Linked DNA regions of Homo sapiens: region 1 is linked to region 2. The links are contacts of gene promoters, found by promoter capture Hi-C in blood cells and fetal thymus (Javierre and others, 2016). All regions are on one chromosome and are shown on one strand. Each heading gives the region's core, a stretch centred on a gene start or on the middle of the fragment in contact. The rest is flanking DNA. Distances are from core to core; before and after follow the strand shown.

Region 1 (3,564 bases), core at 360-2,859, 520 kb after region 2:
GGAGGAAATGTAACTACCATTATTTGCAGATGACTATATACTTGGAAAATCTAAAGAAATGAACTATTAGAATTAATTAGTAACTTCAGTAAAGTATCTGGATTCAAGGTTAATATGCAAAAATCAATTGTATTTTTGTATACTAGCAAATTATAAGTTTAAATAAAAATAGAAAAACAATATCCTTTTCAAAAGCATCAAAACCACTAACAATAAAGGTAAATCTAACAAAAGATGTTCCAGAACACTACACTGAAAATCATAGAACTTTTGCTGAGAGAAATTAAAGAAAGCCAAAATAAATGGAAAGGTATATTTGTGGATTGAAGACTAAATATTAATATGTAAGTTATCCCCAACTGATTCATAGATTCAATATAATTTTAATAAAATTCAAGTGGAATTGTTTGTGGAAATTGACAAATTGATTTTAAAATATAAATGAAAATGCAAAAGACCAAAGTTAGCCAAAAGAGTCTTGAAAAAGAATCACAATGTTTTAACTTCATATAAAGTTACAATAACTAAGACAACATGATATGGGCATAAAGATAAACATATAAATCAACAGAGACTACAAGAAAGAGAAACACACACATAAGGTCACCAAATTTACAACAAAGACACCGCCACATTTCAGTGGGGAAAACGATGGTCACTTCATGAAATGGTATTGTTGGAGCAATTGAACACCCTACCTCATACCATACACAAAAATTTATTTCAAATGAATCATAGACCTAAATATGAAAGATAAAATAGTAAAGCTTCTAGAGCAGGTAGTATAATATCTTCTTGGCTTAAGGTAGGCAAAGATTTCTTGCAAAAGATCCCAAAACACTAACTATGAAAGAAACCACTGACAAATTAGACTTACTTAAAACTAAGAACTTTTGTTCATCAAAAGACACTATTAAGAGAGTGAAAAAAAGCCACAGAATATGTGAAGATATTCACAACACATATCCAACAGAAGACTTCTATGTAGAACATGTAGGAAGAATGTCTAGTAATTAGAACACAAAAATCCCAATTTTTTTTAAAAAAATAGGCAAAATAACAGGCATTTCATAACAAAATACTCAAATGACCAATAAACATATCAAAAAGTGCTCAAAAGCATTGTTTTTCACGGAAATGCAAAGTAAAAGCTCAATGAGATACCACTATGCCAAGATACCACTATCTATTCACCAAAATGGCTAAGATCTACAAAAAAAAAAAAAACCTAGCATCAAATGTTGAGAAGAATATGCTGTTTGAAACACTCATACGTGGCTAGTGGAGTGACAATTAGGACACCCACTTTGGAAAACTGGCAGTGTCTACTAAAGCCACCCTATGACCGGGCAATTACACTCCTAGGTCTATACCAAGAAAAACAAAGCAAAACCAATACAAGAAACCTCAGGGTTCAAATGTCTTTGTCTCACCCAGGTAACATTTGCAAAAGGGTAAGCCAGGATAGGTAGCGTTCCATCACCAGCTATCACTTGCCACTTTTTACCTGATTTCTCAGAGCTTAGTTTCTTCTACTTTACAATATGCAGTTGGCTTTATGACCCAGTTCAAAGAAGTTTTGGAATAAAACTAAGTATAAGTAAATAAATATAAAAACCCACATGGAGAAAGATGACAAAGGAAGGGAGAAAAAGACGCATCCTCTGTTCACTTGCCACCTCCACCTGCTGACTTCCTGGTCCTGCTACTTTCTAGGCTGCAGAGCCCCATGGGGGCTGACACACCATCCGTCAACATCTATGAACTCTCAGGCCCAATGTGGGCTTTCCAACATGGCTCCCAGGGACCAGAACAAAAAGTCTGAACTGACTCACCCAGAAAGTAGAAAAGGGAAGTGAAAGTATTAATATTTCTGAATGCCTCTGTATTTGTGAAAACTAGGCCACAGATAGTGGGGTTTCTCAACTCTTGTGAAAATATGGTAGCCGGGAATTAAGAAGGACTTACAGAATCATGACTGGAGGACCAGAAGAGGGTACAGGCCAAGGAGGAGGAACAGGAGGCCAACTCCAAGAAGTCCATGGAAGTCAGGGGATCATGTGTTTATGCAAAGGAAAGAGGGCAGAAAACTCTATTTGACCAAAGCTGACTGAAGTTGTTTCTAGGTGAAGTAACATAGTTGATGTTAGAGAGAAGTAAAACTCTGTTTGCCTCCTCCCCTTGCAGACATGGCCATGGGAAAAAAAAAAAAAAGGGAAAGACAGAAACTTCCAAGCCTTTCTCAGGCCTATGAGTTGGTGGGGCACATTGTGACCTTGACTGGACAAGTTAGACCCCAAGCATTTGGATATAGGTTGGAGGAAGCTGAAATGCTCTACATCATAAAGTCAGGGGAATGCCCTTAGAAATTTCTGGAAAGCAGGCAGGGAGGAAAAAGAGAAACCTCTGGACCACTGGGGCCAGAGGCAGGAGCCAAGTTGGTAAAAATAGCCAAGCTTTTAAAGATAGTACAGATATAAGGCTTTTAAAAAATATCCCCAGAATTTGACACTCCTCCCATTGACAGGTGGAGTCTGTGTCCCCTTTCCTTTAATCTGGGATATGTGACTGCTTGACCAACAGAATGTTTGAATATGGCAGAAGCAATGCTATGCTGATATTAAGACCAGGTCTTAAACCACAGGAGGGCCCCAGCCAGCCAGCCAGCCATGTGGTGCGCCATATTGGAAGTTGATGCTGCAGCCCTGGTCGAGCTGCCAGGAGATACCCATCTAGAGCAGACACACACCATCTCCACTGAGCTCTGTCCAAACTGCAGGTGTATCACGAAATAAAATAAGACTTTTATTGTTTTAAATCACTGCTTTAGGGTAGTTTTTTTTTTCACAGTAGTATAACTAGAACAGATTTTGAAGTAGGATGCAGTTATAACAAAAACATAAAACATGGGGCATTTGGCTGTGGGACAGAGCAGTGGATGGAAGCCTAAAGGTGTTCCAGAAGATGTCAGTGCAGTGTATGAGAAAGCGAGAGAAACACTAGTGGAATCTGGAGGAAGGAGACCCTTGTTATATAGTAGTAAAAGTTCTGTAAAACTCTCACCTGCAGTCATGGGGAAGTAGAAAATGTACCTAACAAAATCAATGACCTAGAGATGTCCAGGCAGTGGAGCTCAGAAATGATTCTCATGGGATGGGCCAAGAGGATGAGAACCAAGATTATCTAGGTCTTAAGGGGTGAGATGAAGATCCAGCTACATTTATGTTTGTACACAGTGATTTTTTTCACTCATACTCTGATATTATTCAAGAAAGATTTGAAGTGACTTTTTAAAATACTGAAATGTATCAGTACAAAGTTAAAGATAAATTGGAGCAAAGAGAGAATGAAAGTAGGACATGAACTAAAACCAGGGACCAGAACTCTGAGCCGAACTGTGGGGCAGAGACAGGGAGGCAGCTGGGAGCCCCAGGGATGCTAGAATCTAGGGCTTAAGGTGAGCAGAGCCCAAAAGCAGGTGAGGATTCAGGGGCCCCAGGGGTACCGTGATCCAGAATGATGCTTTCCAAATCATGTTCCACTGAATCTGACTTCTGACTGTTT
Region 2 (3,325 bases), core at 278-2,777:
TGAGCCATCAAATGGGAGCAATGAAGCTTAGAAAGGTTAAACTAGCAGGCTGTGGAAACCAAATCGGAACCCAGGCCTGCAGGATCCCAAGCCTGTTTTACCTCCTCCCACCCCCAACACTGCCTCTCTCCCCTCTCTTCTCTCTCTCTCTCTCTCTCTCTCTCTCTCTCTCTCTCACACACACACACACAGCCGCACACGCACGCACATGCAAACAAAGAAGCCAGACAAGGCAAAGGAGAATCTCTCTAAGCCCCAATAATGGCCCTCAGTCATCCTTGTTAATGAGCCCGAATCAACTTTTCCTCAGAAAGAAAATGGCTTAATTGGAAAGCAGAGTTCAGCTCCTAAAACATCGTCATGGCCTTGGCAGCGTTTAGCCCCGAAATGGCCGTCCCCGGTCTCTCACCCCATTTCAGCCTCTCTTGAGGAGCCTCAATCGGAAGCGCTAAGGGGGCCCAGCCTCTGCGCGCCCTGGGTGCGGGATCGTGCCCGCGGGGTCCGGCCTCGCGCCCCACCCTTCGAGCGCCCGCCCCCACCCGCGCTCGGTGCTCCCGCTCCCTTGGCACCCCGAGACCACATCCCCACTTCGGGCACCCCGCATCCCTCGGCGCGTTCGGAAGCCAGCAGCCCACCGGGGAAGCTGGGCCGGCTGCAGCACCACAGCCTGTGCAGAGAGGCATCCGCACCCCGCGAAGTCCCTAGGCGCAGCCCCGGGTCCCCCGCTCTGCGCCTCATCACTGTCCAGTTCGAGTCCCAAACGGGCCTAGAGAGCAGCCGGGCAGCGAGGCTGGGCTCCGGGCAGAACGCGCTTCTCCAGCCGGACGGGGGTGCCCAGGATGACGCTCGCGGGGCCCCGGCCAGCTTGAGCAGCAAGGCGCGCGTCCCCAAGCTCCGCCTGGCGGTCTGCCCTGAACCGCCGGTTACCCTGCCCGCCCGCAGCTCCCAAGCCCCCGCGGCGGCCTTGGCACTACCACCTGCCCCGGCACAGTCTCGCCCTCCACCGCCCGGGCAGCCTTTCCCGAGCCTGCCTTGGGCTGGGGCTGCCCCTTCCCGGGGGTCCCTGGGGGTGCAGCGGCCATCTGAAACCTAGGCTCCGATGCCCCCGGCGTCGCTCCATTCCCCAGGCCCGCGGCGCGCGCGGCCTCGGATACTCACCGCCCGAGGCCCGCTGGGCTGCGGCCTCACTCGGCTCCACGCCCGGATCCTCGAACTTGCTGCTCTGCTTGGAGCCCCCTGAGCTGCTGGGTGTAGAGATTTGTTGCAATGTCGCCTATCATCCTGGAGACGCGGGTGCCTGCGGCTCAGCTCTCCGCCCGGCTCGGTGCGCTCTGTGAGGGGCTCCCGGGCTCTTCCGCCGCTCGCTGCCAGGCCAGGTGAGCGTTTGGTGGAGCTGAAAGCTCGACGCCTCAGTCCAGGTGGCTTTAAAACGGGTGCGTTTGGAGGTGCCCAAACCTAACCTGGGCTTCCTTCCAATCGGAGCAATTTCAAATCTTCATGCTCGTTCATTCCTATACCGGCTAATTCTGGTTTGGCAGGGAAAAAAAATGCAGTCACCTCACATGCACACTCTTGTGGCCGGTTGAAGTTTATAGCTTTGGCTGAGGTTCCGCTAAGGCGCTGCACATTTATCACTGGCGGAAAGGTCCTGAAATCTAATCCAGGATGCAAGTGAGACTAGCAGTAGCCTCCATTTCTCTGAGATGGGAGAGAAGGGATGAAACAGACCCTCACTGAAATATTTTTGGCCAAAGAGGACTCAAAGTCCCTTATTCTCTCTCTTTTAGAGACACGGGTTTCACTATATTGCCAGGCTGGTCTCGAACACTTGGACTCAAGGAATCCTCTGGCCTTGGCCTCCAAAGTGCTGGGATCACAAGCTGAGCCACCGTGACCGGCCAGTCCCTCATTCTTGTTTCCACCCTGGGTCCCACCTCTCCCTGCTCTTTCTGCACGTCCATTACCTACCTTCGTGGGCACCAGGCACAACTTTCATCTCAATACCTCCCTACCTCATTCCCAGCAGGGCACACAACATAGTGCTTTGCCTTGGACAGTTTTCTGTATTATTGAAGTGAATGTGTGAGTCGATGAAGCCTGTGCTGTTTTTTCCCGCCTGAAGGTTTTGCAGTAATTCTCTGCTGCTGTTGTGATAAACTGCCACAGTAATAGCAGAGGAAAACCACACAAATTCACTATTTTACAGTTCTGGAGGTCGGAAGTTTGAAATGGGTCATACTAGGCTGAGATCATGGTGTTGGCCACCTTGAAGGCTGTGTTCCTTCTCGTGGCTGTAGGGGAGAGCCACCAGCTTCTGCAGGCCGCCCACATTCCTTGGCTGGTGGCTCTTCCTCCATCTTCAAAGCCAGCACTGCTGCGTCATTTTGTCTTCTTTCCATACTCACATTGCCTTGTCTCCCCTTTTCTGCCCCCACCCCTGTCCACTTTTAAGGACCCTGGGGATTACATTGAGTCCAATGAGATAATCCAGATAATCTCTCTATTTTAAGGTCAGCTGATTAGCAACCTTAATTCCATCTGCAACCTTAATTCCCCTCTTGCCATGTAAGGTAACAAATTCACATGTTCCAGGGATTAGGATGTGGACATCTTTGGGAGACCATTATTCTGCCTACCACAGATTTCCTTCTTTCTTCTTTTCCTTTTTCTTTTCTTCCTTCTTTTTCGTTTCTTTGAAAAAAAATTCACATGTATTTCACATTGCCTTCCTCGGTCACCCAAGCTGGAGTGCAGTAGCATGATCACAGCTCATTGCAGCCTCAACCTCCTGGGCTCAGGTGATCCTCCCACCTCAGCCTCCTGAGTAGCTGGGACTACAGGCACACGCCACCATGCCTGGCTAATTTTTTTGACTTTTTATAGAGACGGAGTCTCATTATATTGCCCAGACTGGTCTTGACCTTTTGGACTCAAGTGATCTGGCTGCCTCACCCTCCCAAAGTGCTGGGATTACAGGCATGAGCCGCTGCACCCGGCCTATATTGCTATTTCTTATATCAATTCTGTCTCTCTTTTTTTTTTTTTTTTTTTTTGAGATGGAATCTCACTCTGTCACCCAGGCTAGAGTGCAGTGGCAATCTTGGCTCACTACAACATCTGCTTCCCAGGTTCAAGCAATTCTCCTGCCTCAGCATCCCAAGTAGCTGGGGTTATAGGAGCGTGCCACCATGCCCAGCTAATCTTATATCAACTCTTGATTTAAAAATTATTGAGGCTGGGCACAGTGGCTCACGCCTGTAATCCCAGCACTTTGGAAGGCCAAGGCGGGTGGATCACTTGAGGCTAGGAGTTCAAGACCAGCTTG

Evidence for each region. Contacts are between HindIII fragments. The CHiCAGO score rates a contact against its expected background, and 5 or more counts as called.
Region 1: a contact is called between a fragment that was not itself captured here and the fragment with the promoter of SLC16A14 in region 2, in 8 of 17 cell types (erythroblasts, M1 macrophages, M0 macrophages and 5 more). The highest score is 8.5, in erythroblasts.

Annotation. Positions count from the first base shown.
Region 1 is chr2:230,587,876-230,591,439 of GRCh38, forward strand. LOC112268431 (a long non-coding RNA gene) reads right to left here and starts at 1,781. Exons shown (of 5, transcript XR_002959453.2): 1 at 1,623-1,781. RefSeq lists enhancers at 1,379-1,528, 1,689-1,938. The HindIII fragment of the contact is 1,689 bases long and covers 766-2,454 here.
Region 2 is chr2:230,067,397-230,070,721 of GRCh38, forward strand. SLC16A14 (solute carrier family 16 member 14) reads right to left here and starts at 1,528. Exons shown (of 5, transcript NM_152527.5): 1 at 1,159-1,528. All of the region lies in intron 1 of LOC107985995 (a long non-coding RNA gene), which reads left to right. RefSeq lists enhancers at 236-1,006, 1,402-1,521, 1,532-1,591 and silencers at 382-631, 902-1,171. The HindIII fragment of the contact is 4,045 bases long and covers 25-3,325 here.